Linked DNA regions of Homo sapiens: all the other regions are linked to region 2. Evidence: promoter capture Hi-C in 16 types of primary human blood cells and fetal thymus (Javierre and others, 2016). All regions are on one chromosome and are shown on one strand. Each heading gives the region's core, a stretch centred on a gene start or on the middle of the fragment in contact. The rest is flanking DNA. Distances are from core to core; before and after follow the strand shown.

Region 1 (6,905 bases), core at 607-3,106, 540 kb after region 2:
GATTCCCCTTATTGTGGAGACTGTCTTTTGTCTATGCCTTTATGTTGAAATATATGGCGTCCTATCCTGTTTTGTCCCATTGGAGAGCTGTCTGTCCCTGATCTGCATAACAGCCATATTAAATGGAAGTTTACTATGAAATCGGCTTCCAGGCTTTCTTAGGTGGAATAGCTGCAGTTTCTTTATTCTTTTGCACAAGTTGCTGTAGGCTTTCCTTCTTTGAGTTCTTTAATCATCTTTAAGCTTCCTGGGATTTGCCAGGTATGTTTTCAGCTAATTAGCCTAGAGTAGGATTAGCAAACATCCCAAACAGTGCTTGGCTCATGTGTTTATGAGTCATGCTGTATCTCTTTTAACTACTTTACATTTATTTCTTCAAACTATTTGTTTAATTAAATAAAATGTCAAATTTTAGTTATAATGGGCTCAATGATTTCACCTGTCTGCTAAGTTATTTGGGCTTCTTCAGACTTGGATCTCACTGCCTTTTGTAACAACATTGGCTTTCGTATGACATAGAGGACATTGGTATCATATATATATGTATATATATGTGTATATATATGTGTATGTATGTATATATATGTGTATATATGTATATATGTGTATATATGTATATATGTGTATATATGTATATATGTGTATATATGTATATATGTGTATATATGTGTGTGTATATATATATATATTTTTTTTTTCTTGAGACAGGATCTCACTCTGTTGCCCAGGATGGAGTGCAGTGGTGCAATCATAGCTCGCTGCAGTCTCGAACTCCTGGGTTCCAGAGATCCTCCCAAAGTACTGGGATGATAAACTTGAGCCATGGCATCTGGCCCTTATGATTTTTTTTTTTGATAGTCTATTTTCAAGGTAAAACACTTAGTGAATATTTAGAAGTTTAGATTGTTAAAAAAATTAGTGTGTGTTTACTTAAAACGAGAGAACTTTAAGTCTATCATAAATGTCTATTTTGGTTGATTATGGGTCTAGTGAGGCATAACACACAAAAATGTTGAACATTCCATTTAACCATGTGGGAAAACTGGGAATTCTGAAGGATTAAATTTTGGTAGAAGACAATGGGAAAATTCCATATAACTAAGAGGAGATGAGAAGAAGTATATAAGCTTATAATTTTCTGGAAAAAAAGTAAAAAGGACTTTTTTTTTTTTTTAAATTCTGGGTAGAAAGGTAGGGGAAACAGTTTCAGAATTTCTAAAATATATTGCTTTTATGCCTTGAATTTTATGGTCCACTTTAAGGCTTGAAAATAGTATTTACAAAAACTGATTTGATTATTTATACCAAGGGCATCTTTCATAATCAAAGGCTACCTGGAGATAAACTCTATGATATTTGACAATAGTATAAAACACTTCAATACTCATGATCTCAGGCACAACCTGTAGATGTATTTAAAGGGATTTCTTGATGCTATATTGATTTTTTTTGGACAAATAAAAGCTATTTTGACACATCAAGTACATTAATTTATTTTGACCAAAAGGATAGAAAGTAAAGCCATGCCTAAGAATGTGTTAGAAGTACAAAATATTATAAAAATTTGAGCTAATTATTTAGATAATTCAAATATTAAAGTTTGAATTATTCATTAGAGGTAAAGTGAATTTCTGTTGAATCCTTTATTGAATTGACTTTGTTCTCTTAATGGAGAATTAGCCTCAAAACTAGGAAGTGATAAGTAGCCGGGGGCGGTGGCTCACGCCTGTAATCCCAGCACTTTGGGAGGCCAAGGTGGGTGGATCACAAGGTCAGGAGTTCGAGACCAGCCTAGCCAATATGGTGAAACCCCGTCTCTACTAAAAATACAAAAATTAGCCGAGTGCCGTAGTGTGTGCCTGTAGTCTCAGCTACTCGGGAGGCTGAGGCAGAAGAATCGCTTGAACCTGGGAGTGGAGGTTGCAGTGAGCCGAGATCGTGCCACTGCACTCCAGCCTGGGCGACAGAGCAAGACTCCGTCTCAAAAAAAAAAAAACCTAGGAAGTGATAAGATTGGAAATAATGTGCTTGGTTTTTTTTTTTTTTTTTTTTTTTTTTGGGTTGGGTGTATCATTTTATTTATTTTTGTTTTTATTCTTATTTTTATTTTTATTCTTATTTTTTTTTGAGACAGAGTTTCTTTCTTGTTGCCCAGCTAGAGTGCAATGGCACAATCTCTGCTCACCGCAACCTCCACCTCCCAGGTTCAAGCGATTCTCCTGCCTCAGCCTCCCGAGTAGCTGGGATACAGACATATGCCACCACACCCAGCTAATTTTGTATTTTTAGTAGAGACGGGGTTTCTCCATGTTGGTCAGGCTGGTCTTGAACTCCCGACCTCAGGTGATCTGCCTGCCTCGGCCTCCCAACATGCTGGGATTACAGGCGTGAGCCACCATGCTCAGCAGTGTGCGTCATTTTAGTAGCAAATTATTTATTTGATGCTTAGGTACCTAGCCATTAGAAAATGTGTTCATTCCCGCTTTGTTTAGTTTAATATTTTGGACTTTTGCCTTATTTTCTTTCATTACTTCTTTTGTTTTCATCAGTTTTCTTGTTTAAAATGGAAACAGAATGCTCTAGAATAAGCTTAGTTCTCAAGTTTGTCCACTTATTTTCTGACTGTCAGTGATCTCATTAATCATAATATAATCCTTGGTAAGCGAGGACTAGAGATATGCATTGTGAAAGAAAACAAAAAGAGGAGGGCACAGAAGGAAGATGGGGTGGATTCAGTCTCCACTGCCACTGTGGTTATATCAGACTCAGAAAGTAAACATGCCTGTGCTCAGATCACGCACATCTAGTGGCATACATTTGTCAACACCCAACACCACAAAATCATTAAAAATCAAATCAAAAAGGATAAATTATCATTCTGAACAATATGACACAGGTACAGTTTAGTCCTCTTCCTTCTTCTGATATCTAGTTGTGTCTTTCCATCACTGTAGGCAGACCGAAGTGACATCACATTTGAGGTGCAATCAATATAATTAATCACCTTGGAGGTGAGACATATTGGTTCTCAAGAACTGGGTCTGACGTCAAAGGAGAGCAATCTTGCAAGTGCAGAAGAAAGGAGTATCAAACAGTGCACCTATCTTGGGGACCTCGACCTTCCAATAAATCACATCATAGCACACCTACCATGACAATATTTCACATTTTCAAAACAATTTTGGTGTAAGTATCTTGTGCATTTTTTTAAATTTTTTTTGAGACAGAGTCTTCTCCATCACACAGACTGGAGTGCAATGGCATGATCTTGCCTCACTGCAACTTCCAACTCCCGGGTTCTGGTGATTCTTCTGCTCAGCCTCCCAAGTAGCTGGGATTACAGGTGCCCACCACCATGCCCGGCTGATTTTTGTATTTTTAGTAGAGACGGGGTTTCACCATGTTGGTCAGGCTGGTTTCGAACTCCTGACCTCGTGATCCACCCACCTTGGCCTCCCAAAGTGCTGGGATTACAGGCATGAGCAATCGTGTCCGACCATCTTGGGTATTTTTAAAGAAATAGCACTGCTATTATAACTTTGTTTTCATGTAAGTGGAAATAGTGGATTTCCATGGGATGAAAGCAACGGGGCAATGCCTCTAGCATTGTTTAGTGCTAGATGAGGCTGGTAGTTGGTAAGAAGTATAAAAATCAAGGAGAGACCGGGCGCAGTGGCTCACGCCTGTAATCCCAGCACTTTGGGAGGCCGAGGCGGGCAGATCACGAGGTCAGGAGATCGAGACTATCCTGGCTAACACGGGGAAACCCCGTCTCTACTAAAAAATACAAAAAATCAGCCGGGCGTGGTGGCGTGCGCCTGTAGTCCTAGCTACTCGGGAGGCTGAGGCAGGAGGATGGTGTGAACCCGGGAGGCGGAGCTTGCAGTGAGCCCAGATGGCGCCACTGCACTCCAGCCTAGGCAACAGCAAGACTCCGTCTCAAAAAAAAAAAAAAAAAAAAAAAAAAAAAAAGGAGAGAAGGAGAGATGACTTTAGCCAAAATAAGTCTGGAAATGTGATTTTAGCCAGTCTTCACTTTATTTCATCTGTGGTTCGTCTGTGGGTCACATTTCCCTTCCTAACAACCCCAAATTCTTATATCTCTTTAAACCTGATCTTATGAATGTTGTAGAACCAAATTTGTGAATTTCAGACAGGCTACTGCCTTTTCCAGAGATATTTACAGTTTAAGCCTTTTTTTAAAAAAAAAAAAAAACAAAAGAAAGATAAGCTTTATCAGTAAATGGAATTTCAAAGTCAAAAGAGGCTGAGCAAGAGCCTTTTTATTTGGAAGCAGAGGGTTCTTTCTAGTACAGTCTTCTTTGCTTCATCTGTAAGTTTGAAAGTCTTTTGTCTTTATTTATATTTTTAAATAAGTTAGGTACAAAAGTTCAGAGAAAGTCCCACTTGATTTGGTGGAAATTCATCAATTAACTTTCAGGTGGTCATGCTATTAAAACAGTCTTCTGGGTATATCCTGACATAAGCCAAGACGTTTTCACTGGACCACTTTTTTTTTTTTTTTTTTTTTTTTTTTTAATTTTTGAGATGGAGTCTCACTCTGTTGCCCAGGCTGGAGTGCAGTGGTGCGATCTTGGCTCATTGCAGCCTCCGCCTCCCTAGTTCCGGTGATTCTCCTGTCTCAGCCTCCTGAGTAACTGGGACTACAGGTGTGTACCACCATGCACAGCTAATTTTTCTATTTTTAGTAGAGATGGGGTTTCACTGTGTTGGCCAGGCTGGTCTCGAACTCCTGACCTCAAGTGTTCCTCCCACCTAGGCCTCCCAAGGTGCTGGGATTACAGACATAAGCCAAGCCACCCAGCCATTTTTTTTTTTTTTTTTTTTAAGACAGGGTCTCACCATGTTGCTCTGGCTGAACTTGAACTCCTGGGCTCAAAGTGATCTTCCCATCTCAGCCTCCCAAGTAGCTGGGACTACACGCTTGTGCCACTGTGCCTAGCTCAATAGCATGTGTGTTAACTGAGTTAGTAACACAGTTCCTTTCTACCACCTCCACCTTAAGAGTATTGGGAGAGACTTTTAATTAAAGAAAAAAGTAGCAAATTTGAAAAATAGAATGTACTAAACATTCTGGTTTTTAAAGAATGACTATTATGTCTGTGAAACATCACCTATATTTTGTTTGATAAAATAAAAAAAGAAATGCTTGGTTGAAGGCAATAGCAGGTTCATGTTTTTATGATTGCATATCTCACAATAAAAAAGTAAACTCATTAAGTTTGTTACAAGGATTTGGCAGTTTTTATGTGATTTACTCTTATTAACAAGGACAAATATATTGAATTACCATTTTATATCAAATCTATATCCTATAGGATTTAAAATGAACCAGTCTGGTTGACACATGAGTATGATGCAGAAAATCACTAATGAGAATAAAACAGGATTCCAAGTATATCAGATGTCCCTATTTGTGTATGTTATATATTAAAACATGAATTTGTGTTTCATAAGTGTAAGGCTTTGACTTGGTTTTAAGAATCTGATATTTTAATGACCTATCCAGATCCTTTCAAAAGAAGTCATTCCTTGACTATTTCAAAGACTTTACTTCTCTATTTCTGCTAGCCTTGGAAATATTCACTGTTGATTTTTTTCCTTTGGTCACAACCTTCCACCTCCTGCTTTTATCAAGCCCTTCAAAATGGTTCTTTTCATTCTGCCTTGACATTTCTCCATGCGCCCTGTGGCGGCCCACTCCAGCCTGTTGTCTCCCACTGCTCACTTAGGGGCTTTAGCTGGAACTGTGTCTGGGCTAGACCTGGTCCTCAAGAATATGTATTTAGAAAGGTGAACAGCTTTAATCTCATTGTGCTGTCCTTCCCTCTGTTACTTCCCTGCTCTTCCAGTCTGTTGGCTTTTAATTTCTTTTTTCTTTTTTGAGAGAGAGTCTAGCTCTGTTGCCCAGGCTAGAGTGCAGTGGCACAATCATAGCTCACTGCACCCTCAACCTCCTAGGCTCAAGTGATCCTCCCACCTCAAGCTCCTGAGTAGCTGAGACTAGAGGTGCATGCCACCATGTCCAGCTAATTAAGTTTTATTTATTTATTTATTTATTTATTATTATTATTATTATTATTATTTTTTTTTTTTATAGAGACAGGATCTCTATGTTGCCCAAGCTGGTCTCAAATTTCTGTGCTCAAGCGATCCTCCCACCTTGGCTTCCCAAAGTGCTGGGATTACAGGTGTGAGCCACCATGCCTGGCCACCTTTCATTTCTGACTTCTTTATTTTTTAGCTGCATGTTTGGGAAAGAGAGAACATAGGGAAGGCCTACCATACACTTGACCACCTTTGCTCAGAAGTGACCCACATCACCTCATCCATGTTCTGGTGGCCAAGAAGGAGGCAGGAAAATGTAGAGGTGCAGATAAATATTGATAAGCATTGACAGTTTCTTTGATGTCAGTCTTGTAGAATTATTTTGAGAATTAAATATGACAGCATTTTAAAAATATTTAGTTCAGTGTGTGGTAGATAATTAGATCAATAATTATTAAATTGCTTAGTATTCCAGTTCAATAAAAGTTGTTTTTCTCTTAAAAAAGGGTTGATGAATTAGCATTCTACTATATGTTGATATATTTCCGTGAGTTTGGTTAGTGCAAGCCAAAGTCAGAGAGGTTGTTCCATACTCAGAGTATTCATAAAACCGTATTTCTGGGTCTGCAAGAACAGTGACTTAGAAACCATCCTGTGGAGTCACATCTTGGGGACATTTCAGTCAGCTCCCAGGTGAAATTACATGGTCAAAATGATGTTTTTCTTCTGATTTTAGCTGAGCTCTCAATGTTAAGACCTGGGTTTGGAGTATCTATTTATCAATATACATTTTTGGGGTCATTCTGAGTTATCTCTAGTAGGCTGTTTGTTCTATT
Region 2 (6,792 bases), core at 645-3,144:
CCTCCCCACACTGACGCTGAGCTTGGCCATGAGACTTGCTTTGGCCAGTGACACATTAGTAAGCATGATAAAAGTAAAGGCTTGCACATTGAGGCTTGTCTTTTTGGAATGTCCCCTCTTGCAATCCTAAGATTATGATGCTGTGAGGAAGCCTAAATTAGCCATATGGAGAAGCCATGTAGAGAAAAACCAAGGTATGTAGCTAACAGCCTTCTTTCTGTTCCAGCATCCTTAGCTCGTGGCTTCCATGTCCATATTTTCCACATCATGTTCACTTCATTTTTGTCATGAAACTCCATCTCCATCCTTAAGTCCCAAGACTTATGACCCTAGTTAAGCCATTCCAGCCAGGCCCCAGTATGCCCACGCTAATTGAAGCCCCAGACATCATGGAGCAGAAATGAGCCACCTGTACTATGCCCTGACTGAATTCCTGTGCCAGAGAATTCAGAATCATGAGTAAATAAAAGAGCCATTGTTTTAAGTCATTATATTTTGGGGGTGGTTTGAACACAGCAATAAATAACTGAAATACTACTAAAAGCATAAAGAATGTATAACAACCTAATTGTTACAAGGGAGTGGAATTAATAATCTACAAGAAGGCACAAAAGGACAGAAAAGAAACAGAACAAATGAGAAAAATAGAAAGCCAACAGTAATATGGTAAACTCAAATATTAGCTTCTAGGCAATTCTATGTATGAGTAGACACTGACCAAGATCTTGTCTCAATAAGATTTTAAATGTAAAGATTTTCATCTTTTACCTATTGTCCTCTGAATTCCGCCCATATCATTCTCACCTTAGTTTAATGGCCCTGCCTTGATGCAATTTGAAATAAGCTGCTAAGGAGATAACACCCTTAATCTATTCATTGCTGGTGCGCTTACCCAGTCTGGTTTAGAACCGTTTAACAAAGGCTTAGAATCATAATGTCTATGATTATTACCTCTTAGCTCCTAGTTTTACTGACTTCCATGTCTGGAATTACCAGCACTTCTTTTTCGTACATATGGATTATATGAACTAAATGTATTGTTTCTTCCCTCACTACTGAAAATCTATTCAATATATGGAGTTACAATTCAAAGTATTTTACAACCCAGAAAATATGGCCATTCCGTATGTGGTGTGTATTTCAGAGGTGCTCTGCAAGCTCCATGAGGACAGGCGTGAAGTTCAGGCTACATGCCTGGTACGTAATAGACGCTCTGACAGACATTTGCTGAATGAATAAGTTAGTCACTACGGCGTTTGTGGGCTTTAAAACACAAGTAAATGCGCTTCTATCGCCAAAACCTCACAGCTTCCCTTCTGCAAGGTGGCGTACAAGGCCCACGAAATAGTCGGCCGCCGCAGGTGCGCAGCCTGTCCAGCCTGTCCGGCTCGGGGCAGGCGACCTCGTCTGGTGGCAGTGGGGGAGGCAGCCGTTTGCTTCCTCACAGGGTGTGCCGGAATCAGAGGCTGGAGGCGTCTGGGGAGTAGGCAAATAAACAAAGCCAACCGCACCGAAACGGGTCGTTCCGTTTCACATCCTCCCTCGGGTGTCTGGGTCTTCTCGGAACAAAGTGACCCTCCATCTGTCCGCAGGCAGGTGGAGCCCGTCCCACGCGGCACGCGCCTTCCTTCCTCACAGCCGCGTGTAGACGCGGACCCTCAGGGACACTGCGGACGCGAGAAAGGACACGCCCCCTCGCGGGAGCATAAGTCCACCGCACAGAACTCGCGCGCCTCCCCTCGAACGAACGCGCACGCGCGCGCAGGGGGCGGGTCTTCTTCCCGACACCCACTGAGCGCCCGGCCTCCTCACCCCACCCCACCGAACTCCGGCCGCCCAGGCTCCGCCTCCGCGACGGGCCGTCGGGAGGAGGCGACCGGAAGCCACTTAAAGCAGAGATCGAGGTGACAGGCGAGCTGGCTGGACTCGGAGCGCGGTCGAGGCTTTCTGCGTTCGCGGCGGCGGAATGGCCCGTGCGCGGCTCGCCGCGTCGCGGCTCTGTGGTCCCTAGACGTCGGCTCCCGCCCTCGGCGCTGATCTCCGGCGCGGGCACTGCTTTCCACTCGGCTCCTGTCGTCCGTTCTCTCAGGCTCCCGTTCAGGTAAAGGGCTCCGGGAGGGCACTGAGGGGCTGAAGAACCCTAGCGGGGAGTGCGAGCGCCGGCCTCGCGGCTCCGGCCCCGGCCCCGGCCCCGCGCCGGCAGTGTGCGGGGCTCTCGCGGATCGGGGTGATTGATTTTGAGACTGCCCTTTGTACCGAATTCACTCGGGTCCCGTCAGCATGAAGATGGAATTGGTTTACACTTCTTAGGCACTTAGAGCCTGTGGCAGGTGTATACATCAGACCGAGGCGCCGAAGGATTTAGTTGGGGTCGCAGGCGCCTGCCCCTTCCCCGTTCGTCAGGGTGGGGGCGCGTCTATGCGGCCTCCCCCGCGGGCCGACCCCGGGTGCTCTGAGGCGCCTAGGAGCCCTTCCCAGACCCCGGGGGGGAGGGCACGGCAGCTACGGGAGCCTTCCGGCTACCCCGCGTTTCGGGCTGCAGCCCAGAAGTTTGGAAGATGTTTTCACATTAACTTTGAGAGCGCACAAGTCTTCGTCTTCCTCCCCGCCGCCGCGGGAAGCGCTCGCCGCCTTTCCCCCGCGCTTCGCGGCTCAGTTCTGCGAGCCCCCAAGACCCGTTGGACGCTCCTCGGGAGGTGAGCTGAGGGGGTAAAGAAGAATTAGAGAGAGAAGGCGCCGCGAGTAGTCTCTGGGATGCAGGGAGGCCGGGGCGGGTCGTTGGTCCGAAGGAGGCTGGACAGGAGTTGGGGGGCGCCCAGGCGCCTGCTGAGGGGAAGGCGGGGGCGGGGACGCCCGGGAACACCCGGAATTGCAGAGCCGGGCGGCGCCTCAGCTGCACTGCGCGGAGTTGGCGCGGCCCGGGACCAGGAGCTGAGCAAACCGCCGCGGCCAACAGGAGGCGTCACTCGGACCCGGGCTCGGCGCCGGGGTGTCGCGCGGCGGCGGGCGGGCAGGCTTTGGAGCGGCAGTTTTTTCGGAAAGTGCTTTTGGCCGGGAGTGCCGCAGAACCCCAGCGTCACGAGGTGAGGGGTGTCGCGGTGTGTCGCCTGCCGCTGGAGACCGGAGGATGTGTTCTTCTCATCTTTATTTTTCTGTTATGAAAACTAATTGAGGAGCTAGGTTCTAGTGGCTTTCCCCCTCCAGCCACTTCTCCAGTTCTCTGCTTCTTCCTCCCAGTTTTGTTTCCGAGTTTGATGAAAGGGCAATAATAGGAAAAGTTGCGCGCGCGCGCTTGCGTGTGTACGCGCAGACACACATATAAATAAAATCGATTTAGTGTCTATTTTACCTTGATTGGGTTTGATAGGAGTGGTTAGAGAGTGTGCGCGTGGGGAAAGCACAGGCCGGTTTGGTATGGTGGAGAGGGAATACCACAATCTGTGCCAATTGTGCCTTGAGGCAATAACACCAAATGATGAATAATAACGCCTGGCTTGGCTCCTTTCCAGTTGATTTATGTCTCATGTCAGATCCCTCCTTCTTCGTGAAGCTTTCCCTAACAATGCCAGCTTACAGTGAACTCTCCTTTTTCTGCCTTTTCCTTTTGTACTTATCATGTAAATTTAATACTTCGTTATAAACTGCTTTGTATTTTACTTTTCTGAATTTGATGGACTTCTTACACATAGATTTATGACTCTCCAATTAAATTTTTAATATTCACTTTTGGGGACACTCAGTTTTACCTTTTGTTGTTGACCCACAAACAACAAAGAACTAAGCATTTAATATGTGCTTTTCTTAACTAATTCAGCCAACAAAATATATATGGAACACCAGCTGTGTGCATTGTGGTAGCTAGGCACTTTATTGGGCACCTAGGATGCATATTTGATTAAGTCATGGGACCTTGCGTCACAGATCTCTTTCAGTTTATTGGACAAGAGAGAAGAGGATTAATTGCTCATCACCATTCCTTTCTCACCTGGCACAATCTCAGTAAATGTTTTCAAATTTCAGTTTTTTTCAAGGGGTCTGATTCTTGGAAGAAAGGACTTTTTCGTCTCTTTCAGTAGTTGATTAGGAATCTGAAATTTGGTGTGTGTTTTATATTTTTTTTTTATTTTTCTATAGTATGCCTTCATTTGCTCTTTAAAAATGTATGTATGTAACTTTTCTGAAGGCAAGAACTAGGAGGCTTTTTCTGTGTTACCAAGTTGTGCTTGTCTTCTGACACATCGTGCAGTGGTTGTTGCTAATGGGGCTTCTGTTACTAAACACACCCTTGTATTCCATCAGAAGCGGTAATGTTTTTGGGGGTTGTAAAAGTAGACTCTTAACATTCTTGGATAGTATATTAGAGCTTTCTGAATATAGAAATGCTTAACAGACTCCTGGCTTTCTCCCATAGAACATTTCAATTGAGAGCCCCTGTTACTTGTGTATGTTCTTATACCCTTAAATTGACTCACTGTTTTAAGTTTGAAGTTTATCTTTCATTTGATGAACTTTTAAAGAAACTTTTTGTCAACTCATGAGATAGGTGATACATAAACAACTATAAAGAGAACCGCAAAGCTGAGTGGAAATGTGGTTTCCCTGCTGTCATCATCTAGATACAGTTATTTCTACCTCCCATTTCCCACCCCACTCTAACCTTATAGTAGAAATTCTTAACCTAGCAGAATTGCAAACTCTTATGTATTCAGTCCACAAATGCATGCCAATGGCCTGTTGAAAGACTCTTCTACTTTTACCTGCTGTGTGCTTTTGAATAGCCTTGGGTGCTTTGGAGCCTTAATTTCTCGATAAAATTTAAAATTGACTTGTAAAAACTAAATATAGTATAAGAGGAATGGTTTCAGGGAATCAGTCAGGACAAAAACAAAACATTTTAATGAATGAATGAAATCCAGTTGCTGTCAGTTTGTAAATGATCATCTTCCTTCCTTTCCTCGTAGGATTTTTAGACTCTGAGGAGCAGTTGGAGCTAATCCACATTATGGAAATGGAAACCACCGAACCTGAGCCAGACTGTGTAGTGCAGCCTCCCTCTCCTCCTGATGACTTTTCATGCCAAATGAGACTCTCTGAGAAGATCACTCCATTGAAGACTTGTTTTAAGAAAAAGGATCAGAAAAGATTGGGAACTGGAACCCTGAGGTCTTTGAGGCCAATATTAAACACTCTTCTAGAATCTGGCTCACTTGATGGGGTTTTTAGATCTAGGAACCAGAGTACAGATGAGAACAGCTTACATGAACCTATGATGAAGAAAGCCATGGAAATCAATTCATCATGCCCACCAGCAGAAAATAATATGTCTGTTCTGATTCCTGATAGGACAAATGTTGGGGACCAGATACCGGAAGCCCATCCTTCCACTGAAGCTCCAGAACGAGTGGTTCCAATCCAAGATCACAGCTTTCCATCAGAAACCCTCAGTGGGACGGTGGCAGATTCCACACCAGCTCACTTCCAGACTGATCTTTTGCACCCAGTTTCAAGTGATGTTCCTACTAGTCCTGACTGCTTAGACAAAGTCATAGATTATGTTCCAGGCATTTTCCAAGAAAACAGTTTTACAATCCAATACATTCTGGACACCAGTGATAAGCTGAGTACTGAGCTCTTTCAGGACAAAAGTGAAGAGGCTTCCCTTGACCTCGTGTTTGAGCTGGTGAACCAGTTGCAGTACCACACTCACCAAGAGAACGGAATTGAAATTTGCATGGACTTTCTGCAAGGCACTTGTATTTATGGCAGGGATTGTTTGAAGCACCACACTGTCTTGCCATATCATTGGCAGATCAAAAGGACAACTACTCAAAAGTGGCAGAGTGTATTCAATGATTCTCAGGAGCACTTGGAAAGATTTTACTGTAACCCAGAAAATGATAGAATGAGAATGAAGTATGGGTATGTATTTATAACAACTTGTAGAACTGTTGTTAAATGCTATAGAGAAGGTAAAGAAGCTAAAAGCTTAGTAGGGTGGTTTCTTTCAGTAGTAACAGGTTTTCTTTTTTTCCACTATTATTCTTTTGACTGTGCTGTCCTGATTTTTCATGGTGGGTGAATGCAGGCTATTAACTCAACCGGACAATGAAAGTTTTACGATTTGAACAATTCATATGTCAGTTCAACGTGCGTGTGACTGAGAAGTTGCACATACATTAAATATTGTGAATCAAATACTGTTTTAATCACCCAAGGAAAGCTGGCTTTTGAAAGAAAGTCTGGCGAATCTTACTATAACATAAATAATGAATCTCCTAATTTATCTAATTTTAAAGCTCTGCACATTGAGCAGCTGTTATTTTTTAAAGAAAAATAGTATTGTCGAGAGATGTTTGTGACCCTCTTCATTTTGAATGGTATAAACATCTTTTCTGTGAATGATTCAGAAGTTCCTCCCATACTTCTGGATCTTTTATTAGTTTCCTTGGAACTTTTCACCATTAAGTTTATATTATAGATAAAATAAATTTTTCCAGAATTTAGGGTATTTTTTTTTTAACCTGGAAGAGTCCTTTAACAATCAGTGAAGGGATGAATTTATGGTAAGGTATGTTTAATACTCAAACAATTATCCTTGAGTTTTGGTACACAAGATGTGTGTATACACATAACTCAGTTCTTTTAGTATGGATGTCTAAGCAGCATTCACTGGCAGGCAACTGGTATTTCCACATCTGAATTCTTCTTTAAACTTTAAAATGAAGAAAATGATAGTTGCCTCATGTAAAGTTGCTAGTGCAAAAATGGCTATATAATAAGCATTAATGTTTA
Region 3 (7,163 bases), core at 2,079-4,578, 820 kb before region 2:
TGGTAACCAACTCTAATTACATTGGTGATTGGAAGACTCGTTACATCCTGTTTTTATGTTGCAATAAAACGTCTTGTGGCCGGGCGCGGTGGCTCACGCCTGTAATCCCAGCACTTTGGAAGGCCGAGGCGGGCGGATCACCTGAGATTGGGAGTTCAAGATCAGCCTGACCAACAAGGAGAAACCCGTCTCTACTAAGAGACGTACAGGAATTTGAGAATCTGATTAATTTTTTTTCTGCTCTCTCACCTCTGGCAGAAAGATTATTATTTTTTTTTCTTTTGAGAGGAATCTCACACTGTCGCCTGGGCTGGTGTTCAGTAGGGCCATCTCGGCTCGCTGCAGCCTCCACCTCCCGGGTTCAAGCGATTCTCCTGCCTCAGCCTCCCGAGTAGCTGGGACTACAGGCACGCGCCACCACGCCCGGCTAATTTTTGTATTTTTAGTAGAGACGGGGTTTCACTATGTTGGCCAGGCTGGTCTCGAACTCCTGACCTCGTGATCCGCCTGCCTCGGCCTCCCAAAGTGCTGGGATTACAAACGTAATGGCAGGCTAGGCACAGTGGCTCACGCCTATAATCCCAGAACTTTGGGAGGCCGAGGCGGGTGGATCACGAGGTCAAGAGATTGAGACCATCCTGGCCAACACGGTGAAACCCCGTCTCTACTAAAAATACAAAAAATTAGCTCGGCCTGGTGGCGCGCGCCTGTAGCCCCAGCTACTTGGGAGGCTGAGACAGGAGACTCGCTTGAACCTGGGAGGCGGAGGTTGCAGTGAACCGGGATCGTGCCACTGCAATCCAACCTGGCGACAGAGTGAGACTCCGTCTGGAAAAAAAAAAAAAAGGCAACTGTAAAGTCCTCTAATCTTTGTTAAGTAGAAGAATAGATTGCAGAAAAGAACAGTGTTGGCCGGGCGCGGTGGCTCACACCTGTAATCCCAACACTTTGAGAGGCTGAGGCGGGCAGATCACTTGAGGTCAGGGGTTCAAGACAAGCCTGGCCAATATGGTGAAACCCTGTCTCTACTAAAAATACAAAAATCAGCTGGGTGTGGTGGCTCATGCCTGTAGTCCCAGATACTCGGGAGGCTGGGGCTGGAGAATCGTTTGAACCCGGGAGGCGGAGGTTGCAGTGAGCCGAGATCATGCCATTGCACTCCAGTCTGGGTGTTAAAGAAAAGAACGGTGTCATTTAAGTCCAATCAAGATTAAACCAAAACAACCATGAGTGGGATTTATATTGTGCTGGATTCAAACCCTGGCTCTAACAGTAGTTGTGCCTTGGACAGATTACTTAACCTAAGCCTCCATTTTGATGAAAATTAAAATAGAGTTCATAACATCTATTTCAGAGAGTTGTGGGAGTTAAAGGAAGCAGCCAATAAAGCCATTCACAATCAGTAGGTGTTTTTTTTTTTTCCAAAAAAAAAGGAAATACTTGATGAGTTTGTATGTCTTGTGTTTGATTTTTTCCCCTTCTTTAATTTGAAATAATTATAGATTCACAGGAAATTGCAAATATAGCAGAGTCCCATATACCCTTCACCCACCTTCCTCTGATCATTGCCTCTTACGTGATTATAGTACAATATTAAAACCAGGAAACTGACATCTGTAAAATATTGTTAACCAGACCACAGGCTTTATTCCAATTTCACCAGTTTTTACATGCACTAGCTTGTGTGTGTGTGTGTGTGTCCTGTGTTACCCTTTCATAGTGCTATCCCTTATAGTACTACATATTAATAGTTGCACCAGTCCACTGTCCTCCTCCCTGTTCTTTGGCAATCACTAATTTGTTCTCCACGGCTATACTTACGTCCTTTCAAGAATATTATAAAAGTGGAATCATATAGTATGCAACTTTGGGGATCAACTTTTTTTTTCATCCACCAAAATGTCCTTGAGATCCATTTAAGATGGTAATATATCAGTATCAATGTATGTCCGTCTTTCTTTTAAATCACAGAGTATTAGTCCATTGTATAGATACCAAATCAGTTTTGAGTTTTTTTCATTTTTTTTTTTTCTTTTTTGAGATGGAGTTTCGCTCTGTCGCCCAGGCTGGAGTGCAACAGTGTGATCTCGGCTCACTGCAACCTCCACCTCCCGGGTTCAAGTGATTCTCCTGCCTCAGCCTCCTGAGTAGCTGGGACTACAGGTGTGTGCTACCGTGTCCCGCCACATCAGTTTTTAAATAAGGAATCTTCTTGGAAATAATTGATTTCTCCCTACATATAAGAATGATTCCCCTTTAGTGGTTCAATTATCTTCCTATCAAATGTTAAATCTTTAGATCTATGCAGGCAAGAGTTACAAACAATAGGAAAAATGACTGGAGGCAAATATCAGGAAAAGTGTTTTTCATGTTACCCCAATTCAATGTGTATGCATTATTAAAGTGATAAGGTGGGCCAGGGGCAATGGCTTATGCCTGTAATCTCAACACTTTGGGAGGCCAAGGCAGGTGGATCACTTGAGGTCAGGAGTTCAAGACCAGTGTGGCCAAGATGGTAAAACCCTGTCTCTACTAAAAATACAAAAATTATCTGGGTGTGGTGGTGAATGCCTGTAATCCCACCTACTTGGGAGGCTGAGGTAGGAGAATCGCTTGAACCTGGGAGGTGGTGGTTGCAGTGAGCCAAGACTGTGCCACTGCACTCCAGTCTGGGCAACACAGTGAGAAGAGAATCCTCCAGCCCCAAGGTGAGCCACCCCTGCTAATGCTAAATAAAGAGTAGAGACAAGTATTCGTTGCTAAGCCATGCCCAAATTGCTGTTGTCTTCTTAGAAGACTTAGTGGTAGTATCTTTCCAACACAAACTAAGACATTTCTCTACAAACCTGGGAACACCACCCCCACCAGGCCCTCAGTGTCCCTCAGCAAATGTGGAACAAATGTCACTATCACTATGAAAACAAAACTGATACCGCATGGGACCTTCAGCCCATACTGTCATGAATAGCTGTTTTTGTTTTTTGTTTTTGTTTTTTTTGCATTTTCAACTCCCCTAACTCACTTCAGTTAATATCATTTCCCCTTTCTTTTGGAATACTGGTGTTCCCTGATTGATGTGTTTTGGGGAAGCTGGTGAAACTGCCAAATATAAAACCCTTCTGGTGGTCGCCATGATCCTTTCTTGCTTTTTTTTTTTTTCCTTGTCCCTTTATAGGTATCCTGTGTTTTCCAGTTGAAAGCTTGTGAAAATTCGCTTTATCCTTGAAGTTCAGAATTTTCACCAGGATGTATGAAGGTATGTATTGTATAATACATATATGTTTTTCTATTAATCTTGTTCAACATTTATTAGGTCTTTTTTAACAAAGTTTCAAATCTTTCTTGATTTTAGAGAAATTTTCCTTAATAATATCTTTGCTTTTTCATTTTTTCCTCTTCATTAATTCCCCCTAAAAGTCCTAGTAAACTTATATTTTGTTTACTGGAATTACCCCTTAAGCTTTTTCTCATAACTTTCCTTTTTCTTTTTACTCTATGTTCTTAGAAACTTCCAAACTAGGTCCTTCAAAAACAAATTGAAATTGCACAGTTAAAATTTCTGCATTTCAAAATACATAAGAGTTTTATCTCAAAAAACAAACAAACAACTATAAAAAAACTATGGCCGGGCGGTGGCTCACGCCTGTAATCCCAGCACTTTGGGAGGCCGAGGCGGGCGGATCACGAGGTCAGGAGATCGAGACCATCCCGGCTAAAACGGTGAAACCCCGTCTCTACTAAAAATACAAAAAATTAGCCGGGCGTAGTGGCGGGCGCCTGTAGTCCCAGCTACTTGGGAGGCTGAGGCAGGAGAATGGCGTGAACCCGGGAGGCGGAGCTTGCAGTGAGCTGAGATCCCGCCACTGCACTCCAGCCTGGGCGACAGAGCGAGACTCCGTCTCAAACAAACAAACAAACAAACTATTTGCATGGGGATTGGTGGTCATGGAGGCTTGAATTTAAAATGGCAGATTATCAAAGACTATTGAAGCTTGGTGATAGGTACACTAAGGGTTCATATGAGACCATTCTGTTTATTTTGTACATATTTAAAATTCTCCATAAAGGAAAATGAGAACAAAAACAACAACAAAAACCTCAAAACAGGCCGGGCATGGTGGCTCACGCCCGTAATTCCAGCATTTTGGGAGGGTGAGGTGGGTGGATCACCTGAGGTCAGGAGTTTGAGACCAGCCTGGCTAACATGGTGAAACCCCATCTCTACTAAAAATACAAAATTAGCTGGGCATGGTGGCGCATGCCTGTAAACTCAGATACTTAGGAGGCTGAGGCAGGAGAATTATTTTTATTTTTATTTTTTTGAGATGGGGTCTTGCTCTGTCACCCAGGCTGGAGTACAGTGGCGTGATCTTGGCTCACTGCACCTCCTCCACCTTCTGGGTTCAAGCGATTCTCCTGCCTCAGCCTCCTGAGTAGCTGGGATTACAGGTGCGTGCCACCACACCCGGCTAATATTTGCATTTGTAGTAGAGATGAGGTTTTATCATGTTGGCCAGGCTGGTCTCGAACTCCTGACCTCAGGTGATCCACCCACCTTGGCCTCCCAAAGTGCTGAGATTACAGGCATGAGCCACCATGTCCGGCCGGCAGGAGAATTATTGAACTCAGGAGACGGAGGTTGCAGTGAGCCGAGATCACGCCGTTGCACTCCAGCCTGGGCAACAAGAGCAATATTCCATCTCAAAAAACAAACAAACAAATTGGTTAACCACCGCTATTAATGCTGCTATTCAGTCTGTTTCAGAAACAAAACAAAACTGAAAGAGAGAATTTTACTGGAAGGATATTGATGGCCTCCCAGAATCAGTGGAAGGCCAGGACACCTGGCTTAGCAAAAACACAAAAATCAAGGTGACAATATATTAGGAATTACAGCAATAATCTTCAAGAACATTTTTCAAAAAACTACTCCACTGCCACGCCTGTGATGTCTTTGCTTCGTTTTTCTAGGCTCTGTTACAAAAATTAATACCACCATCTAGTGGACCCTTCATATACCTATGTCTGATTGTAGATTTCTTCTCTGGTTTTCCAGTCATTTCACTGAGATCTGAACTGTATCTTCTATATATTCCTGAGAATTTTAAAATTGTTTATTTTTGAGGTGGGAATCAGGTTTATTGAGGTATAATTTATATCCAGTAAAATTGGCCCTTTTTAGTGTACAGTTCTATGAGTTTGTTTTTTGTGTGTTTTTTGTTTTGTTTTGTTTTTGAGACAGAGTCTTGCTCTGTCACCCAGGTTGGAGTACAGTGGCGTGATCTTGGCTCACTGCAATCTTCACCTCCTGGGTTCAGGCAATTCTCCTGCCTCAGCCTCTTGAGTAGCTGGGATTACAGGCGCCTGCCACCACATCTGACAAATTTTGTATTTTTGGTAGAGACTGGATTTCACCATGTTAGCCAGACTGGTCTTGAACTCCTGACCTCAGGTGATCCACCCACCTTGGCCTCCCAAAGTGCTGGCATTACAGGTGTGACCCACGGCACCTGGCCTTTTGTTTTCTTTTGAGACAGAGTCTCGCTGTGTTGCCCAGGCTGGAGTACAGTGATGCAATCTTGGCTCACTGCAACTTCTGTCTCCCAGGTTCAAGCGAGTCTCCTGCCCCAATCTTCTGAGTAGCTGAGACTACAGGTGCATGACACCACACCTGGCTAATTTTTGTATTTTTAGTGGATATGGGGTTTCGCCATGTTGGCCAGGCTAGTCTTGAACTCCTGACCTCAAGTGATCTGCCTGCCTTGGCCCCCAAAGTGCTGGGATTACAGACGTGAGCGACCATGCCCGGCCCTATGAGGTTTTTGGGTGTTTTGTTTTGTTTTTTTAATTTCCATAGGTTTAGGCTAGGCACGGTGGTTCACGCCTGTAATCCCAGCACTTTGGGAGGCCGAGGCGTGTAGATCACTTGAGATCAGGAGTTCTAGACCAGCCTGGCCAACATGATGAAACCCCATCTCTACTAAAAATATAAACATTAGCCAAGCATGGTGGCGCACACCTGTAATCCCAGCTACTTGAGAGGCTTAGGCGGGAGGATTGCTTGAACCCGGGAGATGGAGGTTATAGTGAGCCAAGATCGCACCACTACACTCACAGCCTGGGCTACAGAGCAGGACTCAGTCTCAAAAAATATATATTTTTTTATAGGTTTTTGGGGGAATGAGTGGTGTTTGGTTACATGAATAAGATGTTTAGTGATAATTTCTGAGATTTTGGCGTACCCATCACCCGGTTCTATGAGTTTTAACAAATAGATAGTTATAGAACCACCACCACAATCAAGATATGGAATAGGTCCGTCAACTCCAAAAAGTACATACCCTTGTGCCCATCTGAAGTCAACCTCTCCACCCATTCCCCAACCTCTGGTAACCACCGATCTATTTTCTCTCCCTATAGCTTTGCTTTTTCCAAAATATCATGTAAATGGAATCATACAAAATGTAGCTTTTGAGTGTGTCTTCTTTCAGTCAGCATAATGCATTGAGATTCATTGATATCATTGTCCCGCATCCCCACCTCCTTCTTTTTTTCTCCCCAGTAATATTCCATTGTATGGATATGCCAGAGTGTATTTATCTACTGACCAGTTGAAGAACATTTGGATTGTTTCCCATTTTTTGTATGAGTAATGTCACTATAAACATTTGCATACAGGTTTTTGTGTAAACATATCTTTTCATCTCTCTTGGGCAAATACCTAGGAATAGGATTGTTAGGTCTTATTGATACCAGTGGGTTAGGGAGGTCCCCAAATGCTGGTGGGGCCTCAACCCCAACCAGTGTCCAGGCTCTTGACACCTTCCCAAGAAGCAATTCAAGGATTAGTTGGAAGATAATGAAAGTGAAACCGTCAGTGCAAGATTATAACTGAGACAGAGAAAGAGATCTAACCTGACCAACTCCATCTTGCCTCTGACCATCAAGCTGTCCTAGTTCATTCCTGGGCATGGGACAAACTAGCTTTAGGAAGAACTTAGTTTATAGTTTATAGTTTGAGGCACAGATGATAACAGCCTTTTCCCAAAACAAATCCCCTTCTTGCCTGGGGACTAGACTGCCTTTGTAGGACTAACATATTAGTCAAAAGATTATAAATTATGGTTTAGGAGTCATGCAGCTGGAGGCTACAAGATTCTGAC
Region 4 (7,552 bases), core at 2,504-5,003, 560 kb after region 2:
ACACTCTGCATGGTTCTGCCAAATTCCTTTCTACGTAATATGCTTTCGGTCATCCTGGAGTCTGTGGCAAGCAGTATCTGGAGATTTGGATACTTGTTAAGTGGTTGTTTGGTCACTGGTAGGAGTGACCAAACACTTTTCCTCTCAGTCATCCTGGGACCACAAAGCAAGCCTGCTTTGATAAATAGCGTGTAAGTGAAGATGTTTTATATTCAGGTGAAAGGGTTTAAGAATGGAATATGATTTTCCATGCTCTTTTCTCTGGGCATGGTGATTGTGGAATGATATTTTGATACAGATGTCCACACGATTGAATCATGCAGGGATACCAAGACTCCACATGAAGGACAGCTTCATTGAACCTCACCTGCCTCAGCTTTGTATGAGTGACAAATAAACTGTGTGTAGCATCACTAAGATTTTGGGATTGTTTGTTACCACAGCATAAATTGGCCTATCTTGACTATTCATTTGTAAATATTGTATACTTATAGTGCTTATACAGTTTCAGGCACATTGGCAATACATATTCGTTAGTTAAATGGATTGAATTAAGAATAAATTTAACATTCACTGAACAAATGACTATAAATTATGGAAGTATATTAGCTAGAATAGCTCAGTTCAGTTTTATTTATTGACCGATACTGTGGTAGATATTGAGAATACAAAGATAAATTTGTTTTTAACCTGGAAGATTTTGGTTGGAAGATAAAATTGGAAAGGTTGATTACTGTCTGGATGTGGAGGATCTTAAATTAAAGACTGGGCCATTTTAATTCATCTTGTAGACAATGGGAGGGAAAAGTAGGTGTCTATGGGTTTTGAGCAAGGGAGAAGTACTATTAAATTGACATTTTAGGAAAATTAATCTGCTGATGGTGAAGGAGGTATAAGCATACAAGTTGAGAGGCTATTTCAATAATCTAGGTGTGAAAAGATAAGGGTCCAGGCTGGAGTGTTGGTGATTGAAATGAAAAGGCATAATCGGAAATGAGAGAAATTAGAAAGTAAAAACAGGGTATTGGATATGTGAGGGGTAGGGAGGTGAGAAGGAAGAATGATTAACGAATGACTCTTAGATTCCATGTCTGTGATGCCACTGGTGGAGGTTGGGAGGATATAGAAGATGATGAGTTCTTTTTGTTGTGTGTTGAATTTGAGGAATGACAGCTCATTCATACAGAAATATCCTTAAGGTTAGTTTGTGAAGTAGGATTGGATGGAGCTTGGCAGAGAAGTTGATGCCAAAACTAGATTATAGTGTAGTGATCATACTGGAAACAGTAAGAGTAGATGAAGTTTCTAAACGGGAGCTTGTAGAGAGAAAAGCGTGGGCTTTAAGAGAGATCCTCATTTAGGGACATGAGAATGGAGAGGAGTTAGCAAAGGACACAGGGAAGTAATCAGTAGGAGAGGTAATTTTTACTGAACATTTACTATACTAAGAATTTTACATGCATTTTATTATCTAATTCTCACAGCCTCCCCTAGGAGGAAGAGTTATTCCATTTTATGGATGAACAAACTGAGACTGATAGGAGTTTAAGAATTTTCACTGAGGTCAAATAGCTACTAAACAATGATGCCAGGTCTGCTTGACAACAAAATGTTGTCATTTTGTTCTTAACCGTTGCGGTTAAACTCAAATGATCCAAGTTTTAGATGAACCAGCTTGTTATTGAGGAGGGGCTGGCCAACAGGGTCATACGCTATAAATTCAAAAGAAATGATGTTTGAGAACAGGCCATTGATTTGATGAACAGGAAGTGATGGTTTTGAGTAGAAGTGGGGGTAGTGAGCAGGAGCATCACTACAGGGGACAAGGTAAAGGCATGAGTGGGTGATGCTGAAGGAAGGAATCGGTGGAGACAACCAATCAAGAAATGACAGGGGAAAGGAACAAGAGGAAGGGATACATCCTAGGGGGGATCTCAGGGTTACTTTCACAGATGTATTTATTTCCAAGACAGAGGCACAATTTACATATAAGATAAATGGATCCAATGGAGCCAGAGAATGGAAATACCACAAAGATGGCACCAGTGGAGTTGGTAATTTTTTGAGGAGGATAGAAAGACGGGGATCTAAAGTCCAGGGGAAGGGATCAGCTCTGGAGGGAGAAGAGCAACTGCTTGCTTCAAGACCAGAGGGGAAGACCAGCTATATTTTAAACTAGAGATACTCTGGCATCTCTTGAATTTACTGGATTTGTGGAAGTTCCTTTCACCACATTGATACCAGTGAAAGCCAATTTTAACTTAGATTAGCTCAGAATTAAAATTTCCAGTTACTAAAATATGTATGTGAAAATGTGAGATTGTTTTTTAAACTTATAGATAAAAATTGGTTTTATAAGAAAAAATTATTATAATTCTTTCAAGTTACATCACTGAGTCCTTAGTACTTTGTTTTAGAAAACAACTACCTGTTCACCTGCTGAGCTCATTTCCAGTGTCTGGTTTGAGTTCTGACCCTAAAAATGCTATTTAATAAAATGCTCTTATTTTGGATACATCTTATGCATATTTTAAAAAACACTCTTTATGAAAAACATCTTTGCATCTTAAGTTTATTTGCTTTGAAAGCTTTAAGTCTTTTTTTTTTTTTTTTTTTTTTTTTTTTTTTTTTTTTTTTTTTGAGATGGAGTCTCGCTCTGTTGCCCAGACTGGAGTGCAGTAGTGTGATCCTGGCTCATGGCACCATCCACCTCCCGGGTTCATGCAATTCTCCTGCCTCAGCCTCCTGAGTAGCTGGCACTACAGATGCATGCCACCATGCCCAGCTAATTTTTGTGGTTTTTTTAGTAGAGATGGAGTTTCACCATGTGGGCTAGGTTGGCCTTGAGCTCCCGATCTCAGGTGATCCGCCTGCCTCGGCCTTCCAGAGTGCTGGGATTACAGGCGTGAGTCACCATACCTGGCCTGGCAGCTTTCAGTCATAATATATACATCTCAATTATTTTTATACTAACTTATTGGTTTCTTATATAAATTCCAAGGCATGTCTAATAGTCTGTCATTGCAATCTGAATCAGCTTTTTTTTTCCTGAGCAAACACAATTAGAAGGGCTTTAGGATTAATTACATGATTAAACATTTAGTGACTCCCAAAAACTTAGTGAAATAAAATGCATAGAAATTGTTGACTCAGTATTCTAAATAAATCTAATCTTTAGGAATGTCCATGGCTTTGGCAGGATTCGAGGAACATGAATATTATGGGGAAATTTTTTTATGAGACTTAAAAAGGAACAAGAACACAACAATATAAAACATAAGAAAGGAATCTAGTATTTTTGTCAGAAGCAAGTTTTCTCATGAAAATGGAAAAAATATATAATTTAATTTGCATGTTTTTTTTTGGTCAACTCTGGTTTATTTTGTTGGTTTTGTTTATTTGTGTGCTTGAAAGGTTTGCTGCTGGGCCCTTGGACTAAGACCTGGGAAACTCTAAGCTTCATTTTTCTTCACGTGCCAAGTGGTATAGGGAAAGTTGCTTCATCTTTTATATTTATGAATCCCTAGGATAAAAAAAGAATATACCACTTACTTTTTTGAAAGTATTTGTGAGTTTTTATATGAAAAACTGAACAATACTTCAAATTATAGAGCAGCAGGGGAAAATCGAGTGGGGCTGAGGAGACAGATTATGCTGCCTACCTTCCATGGGACTCTGTTGGGCTCACTTTGTAGTTCTGCCATTCAGGGCTGGCTTCCCCAGCTCACTCCGCTTGTGGCTTTGGACACTGCTTTTTCTCCACACTCTCTCTTCGTTCTCCAGCTTCTTTGCTGACTCCTCTTCCTTGACCCAGCCCTGAAATGCAAAGATTCTCTGAAGGTCTATCTCCACACCCTTCTCTTCTAGCATTATCTATATGCTAGTGCAGTCTTTTTCACGCCCAATGTTCCTGCCACGTTTCCACATACCAGTCAGACATCTGTGCCTATGTGCCCCACAGGTACTTTAAACCCAGTGCCCCCAAAGTTTAACATGTCTTCCAGTCCTCTATCAAAATGCTTCCCTTTCTGGACTCTTTGTGTTGATTAAAAGCTTCACCTTCTCATAGTCAACAAAACTAGAAATATGTTCATTTTCCTTGCCTCTCACATCTGATCAACTATGTGTTGTTAATACTATCTCAAATGATTTAATCTCCTTCATTTCCCACATCTTATAAGTAGCCACATTCTGTTTATATTATCTCTAAAATGTTCGCAGTGTCTCTCTCTTGTCCATTCTATCTTCTGCCCTTGTTCTGACCTCATCACCTATTGCATCAGCCAGCTACCTGGCCTTCTTGCCTCCTTCTCTGTTCATTCCATCCTGCACACAGCTGCCAGAGTTGTTTTCTAAAATACAAATTTAATAATAATAATCTTTTGCTGAAAAACCATTGGCTTCTGCAGCAGAGTCTGGCTGCAGCCTCATTTTCTGGCTACACTGTTTCTGCACCCCTTTCCGCCCCCCGTGTAATACATGTGTGCTCTATCCTGTACATCCAGCACACCATAAACTTTCATGGCCCCATGTTTGTTTGGCCTTCTGTAATGCCCTACCTGTCTTTTCTACTTGGTGAAATTACACCAATCTCTCAAGGTCCAGCTCTATTGAAAAGATATAATAGACTATCTTTAGAATATAGTAGGACTCTAATAAATATTTTTTGGTAAGTTAGTTATAAAGAAAATACAAAAGCCTTATGGTACCAGTAAAGGATGAGGGATTATTTTGTTAGCTGAGAAATATAACTGTGTCAAGTCTATACTGTCCAAGATCCCTACCTGCCATTTGCATGGTCTGCCTCAGGCAATGCTTCCTTAGTTCCCTTATTAAAGATAATTTTAGTTTAAAAATATATATATATATATTTTTAATGAAAAATGATACTGTAATGAACATATTTTATGGAATACTTTTGCAAGTATATCTGTAGTGTGCATTCTTTTTTGTTTGTTTTTGAGACAGAGTCTCATTCTGTCATCCAGGCTGGAATGCAGTGGAGTGATCTTGGCTCACTGCAATCTCTGCCTCCTGGCTTCAAGCGATTCTCCTGCCTCAGCCTCCAGAGTGGCTGGGATTATAGGCATGCATCACCACACCCAGCTAATTTTTTGTATTTTTAGTAGATACAGGGTTTTGCCATGTTGACCAGACTGGTCTCAATCTCCCGGCCTCAAGATATCTGCCTGCCTTGGCCTCCCAGAGTGTTGGGATTACAGGCGTGAGCCACTGCACCTGGTATATACACATTCCTTTTAAATTTAGGAAGCTAGCCCTTTGTCTACAATATGCGTTGTAAACAATATTGCCAGTTTACCAATTGTCTTTGATTTTGTTCATTATTATTTTTTGTTGCATAGAAATTTAAAAATCTTTACAGCTAAATTTATTAATATTCTTCATGCTTCTATGTTTTGTGTCATTCTTTAAAAAGTCTTCTTCATTCTAAGATTATGAATAAATACACCCAGTTTTCTTTAGGCATTATTATAGTTTCTTTTTCAGGGTTTAAACCTTTGATCTTTATGAAATTTACTTTGATATAAGGAGTGAGATGAGATTTGTCTTTTTTCCCCAAGTTGTTACTAGTTATACCAAATCAACTTATTGAATATGCTTTTCTTCACTAGTCTGAAACTTAGCTTTTATATAAAATTCTATTGCATAGTTATATGTATTTCTGAACTCTGTACAATTCAATTAGTGAAAACTTTTGATGTCCCAAACCAGTAGTTTAGGAGATTTCAGCATTAAATCAGAGTTACTCTGGATCCAGATCTGTTAGCAGATATAAACTTCACGGTCACAAAATTCAGGTGAGCAAAGATGTAACTTTATTTCCCTACAACCCAACTTAGTTTAGCTCTTGAGCCCCTATGTCCATTTTGTGGTAGAACTCTTAATACAGCCAATTCAAGGTATCTCTGTGTCCCATGGGTGATATAAGACCTGGGGGTTGGGGATGAGATAACTTTTTTCTCATCCAGGATTTCATAAAGAGGATGATTCTGGTTGATAGCCATCTCTGTCTTCTGGCATCTATAAGATATAACTCAATCTGTCTGGTCCTTCTAATTGTGCACTGGCATATGGTTATGTCCTGGCCACGGGCCTTCATTTGCTAGTTCCAGGCACCTGTGCCCAACATCCCCATCTCAGGACCTCTCTTTGCTTTCCTGAACCCTTTTCAAGGGGGGCCCTGGGAACTCTTGTCTGCTTTCCTATACCACTGGAGGTGCTGAGTCTCACTGAAGCTGTGCTCAGGCCAATCTAACAGAACATCTCTCAGACTTTGCCGGTTTTCAGCTGTAGCCTAATGTTGAATATAGGCTTCTCCAAGAGGCTTTAGGTATTTCTGGGAAGGGAAGCAGAAGTTTACTATGCTCTCAGTTCCTTCCCAAAACTACTTTAAATTTCTTCTAGAGGCTTCACCCCAGCTCCATGGAGGCCCCTTTCTCAGGAATTCATATCAATTACTTGTTTTCTTGCTCTCTTTTCCCAATTATCTTCTTTCCTCACAACTGTGAGATTTGCCTCTGTTCTAGGGAGGCAGCAGCGGCTGTGCTGAGAGGAAAGAAATGGCTTTTACATTACCCTGTGATCTTTCCAACTCCAGTGTTTATAGTATAAACTTCTTGTTCAGACCTTTAGAAATTGAGCAGAGCTTTTGGAACCAAAACAATCGTTTGTCTCTAAACATTTTAGCTTTTAATATGATAATTTCTGGTATGAATTTTGAGAGCCTATTTTGGTAGTCATGGCCAATAATTTGATTCTTTCTTCTTGCTGCATCAAGAAGAGTAATGGGCACACAGAAGCCCTGGGGGAAGGATGCCTTGGAGGAGCCCGTGTTATCTCAAATGATTATCTGCAACACTGAGTGAGTCCTTGATCTGGCTCCTAGACCGCTGTCTCCATCCTTGTGATCACTCCCTTGGTCTTGGGATTCATTTCAACTAGCTGCTGGTGCTCTTAGTTCCTTTCCTCTGCCCTTGTTTAGTCCCTGCTTTTTTTTTGTTTTTTCACAAATTATATTGTATGTGGTTTATTATTTGTTTTAAAATTGACAGATAACATTGCATTGTGGAATAGTTAAATCTAGCTAATTAACAAATGCATTACCTCACATAGTAATCATTTTTTGTGGCAAGAGCACATAACATCTACTCTCTTTACATTTTTCAAGAATATTGTCATTAACTATAGTCACCACGCTATACAATAGACCTCTTGAAGTTTCTTCCTCCTATCTAACTGTAATTTTGTATACTTTGACTAATGTCTTCCCACATTCCGCTTTCCCCAACCACCCAAGCTGGTAACTACTTTACTACTCTCTACTTCTATGAGAGCAACTTTTTTAGATTCCATATATGAGTGAGATCATGCAGTATTTGTCTTTCTGTGCCTGGCTTATTTCACTTACTATAATGTCCTCCAAGTTCATCCATGTTGTGCAAATGGCAGGATTTCATTCTCTTGTATGGATGAATAGCATTCCATTGAGTATATATACACCACATTTTCTTTATCCCTTCATTTGTCATGG

What was found. Contacts are between HindIII fragments. The CHiCAGO score rates a contact against its expected background, and 5 or more counts as called.
Region 1: a contact is called between a fragment that was not itself captured here and the fragment with the promoter of TIPARP in region 2, in 1 of 17 cell types (neutrophils). The highest score is 5.2, in neutrophils.
Region 3: a fragment that was not itself captured here is called in contact with the fragment with the promoter of TIPARP in region 2 in 2 of 17 cell types (total CD8 T cells and fetal thymus); the score reaches 6.7 in total CD8 T cells.
Region 4: a contact is called between a fragment that was not itself captured here and the fragment with the promoter of TIPARP in region 2, in 2 of 17 cell types (naive CD8 T cells and activated CD4 T cells). The highest score is 7.0, in naive CD8 T cells.

What each region holds. Positions count from the first base shown.
Region 1 is chr3:157,210,590-157,217,494 of GRCh38, forward strand. The region is part of intron 2 of LOC101928236 (a long non-coding RNA gene); the gene reads left to right. Among named protein-coding and RNA genes, the nearest start is that of CCNL1, 54 kb to the left of the region's middle. The HindIII fragment of the contact is 1,462 bases long and covers 1,126-2,587 here.
Region 2 is chr3:156,672,696-156,679,487 of GRCh38, forward strand. TIPARP (TCDD inducible poly(ADP-ribose) polymerase) reads left to right here and starts at 1,895. Exons shown (of 6, transcript NM_015508.5): 1 at 1,895-2,101; 2 at 4,962-5,919. The coding sequence starts at 5,003. TIPARP-AS1 (TIPARP antisense RNA 1) reads right to left here and starts at 3,018. Exons shown (of 1, transcript NR_027954.1): 1 at 476-3,018. RefSeq lists an enhancer at 1,391-1,690 and silencers at 2,101-2,150, 2,181-2,250, 2,621-2,980. The HindIII fragment of the contact is 8,735 bases long and covers 1-3,548 here.
Region 3 is chr3:155,855,077-155,862,239 of GRCh38, forward strand. It overlaps LOC105374174 (a long non-coding RNA gene), which reads left to right. Exons shown (of 3, transcript XR_924607.4): 1 at 1-2; 2 at 3,176-3,256. Among named protein-coding and RNA genes, the nearest start is that of SLC33A1, 4.2 kb to the left of the region's middle. RefSeq lists an enhancer at 2,902-3,001. The HindIII fragment of the contact is 260 bases long and covers 3,199-3,458 here.
Region 4 is chr3:157,231,225-157,238,776 of GRCh38, forward strand. The region is part of intron 2 of LOC101928236 (a long non-coding RNA gene); the gene reads left to right. Among named protein-coding and RNA genes, the nearest start is that of CCNL1, 75 kb to the left of the region's middle. The HindIII fragment of the contact is 596 bases long and covers 3,456-4,051 here.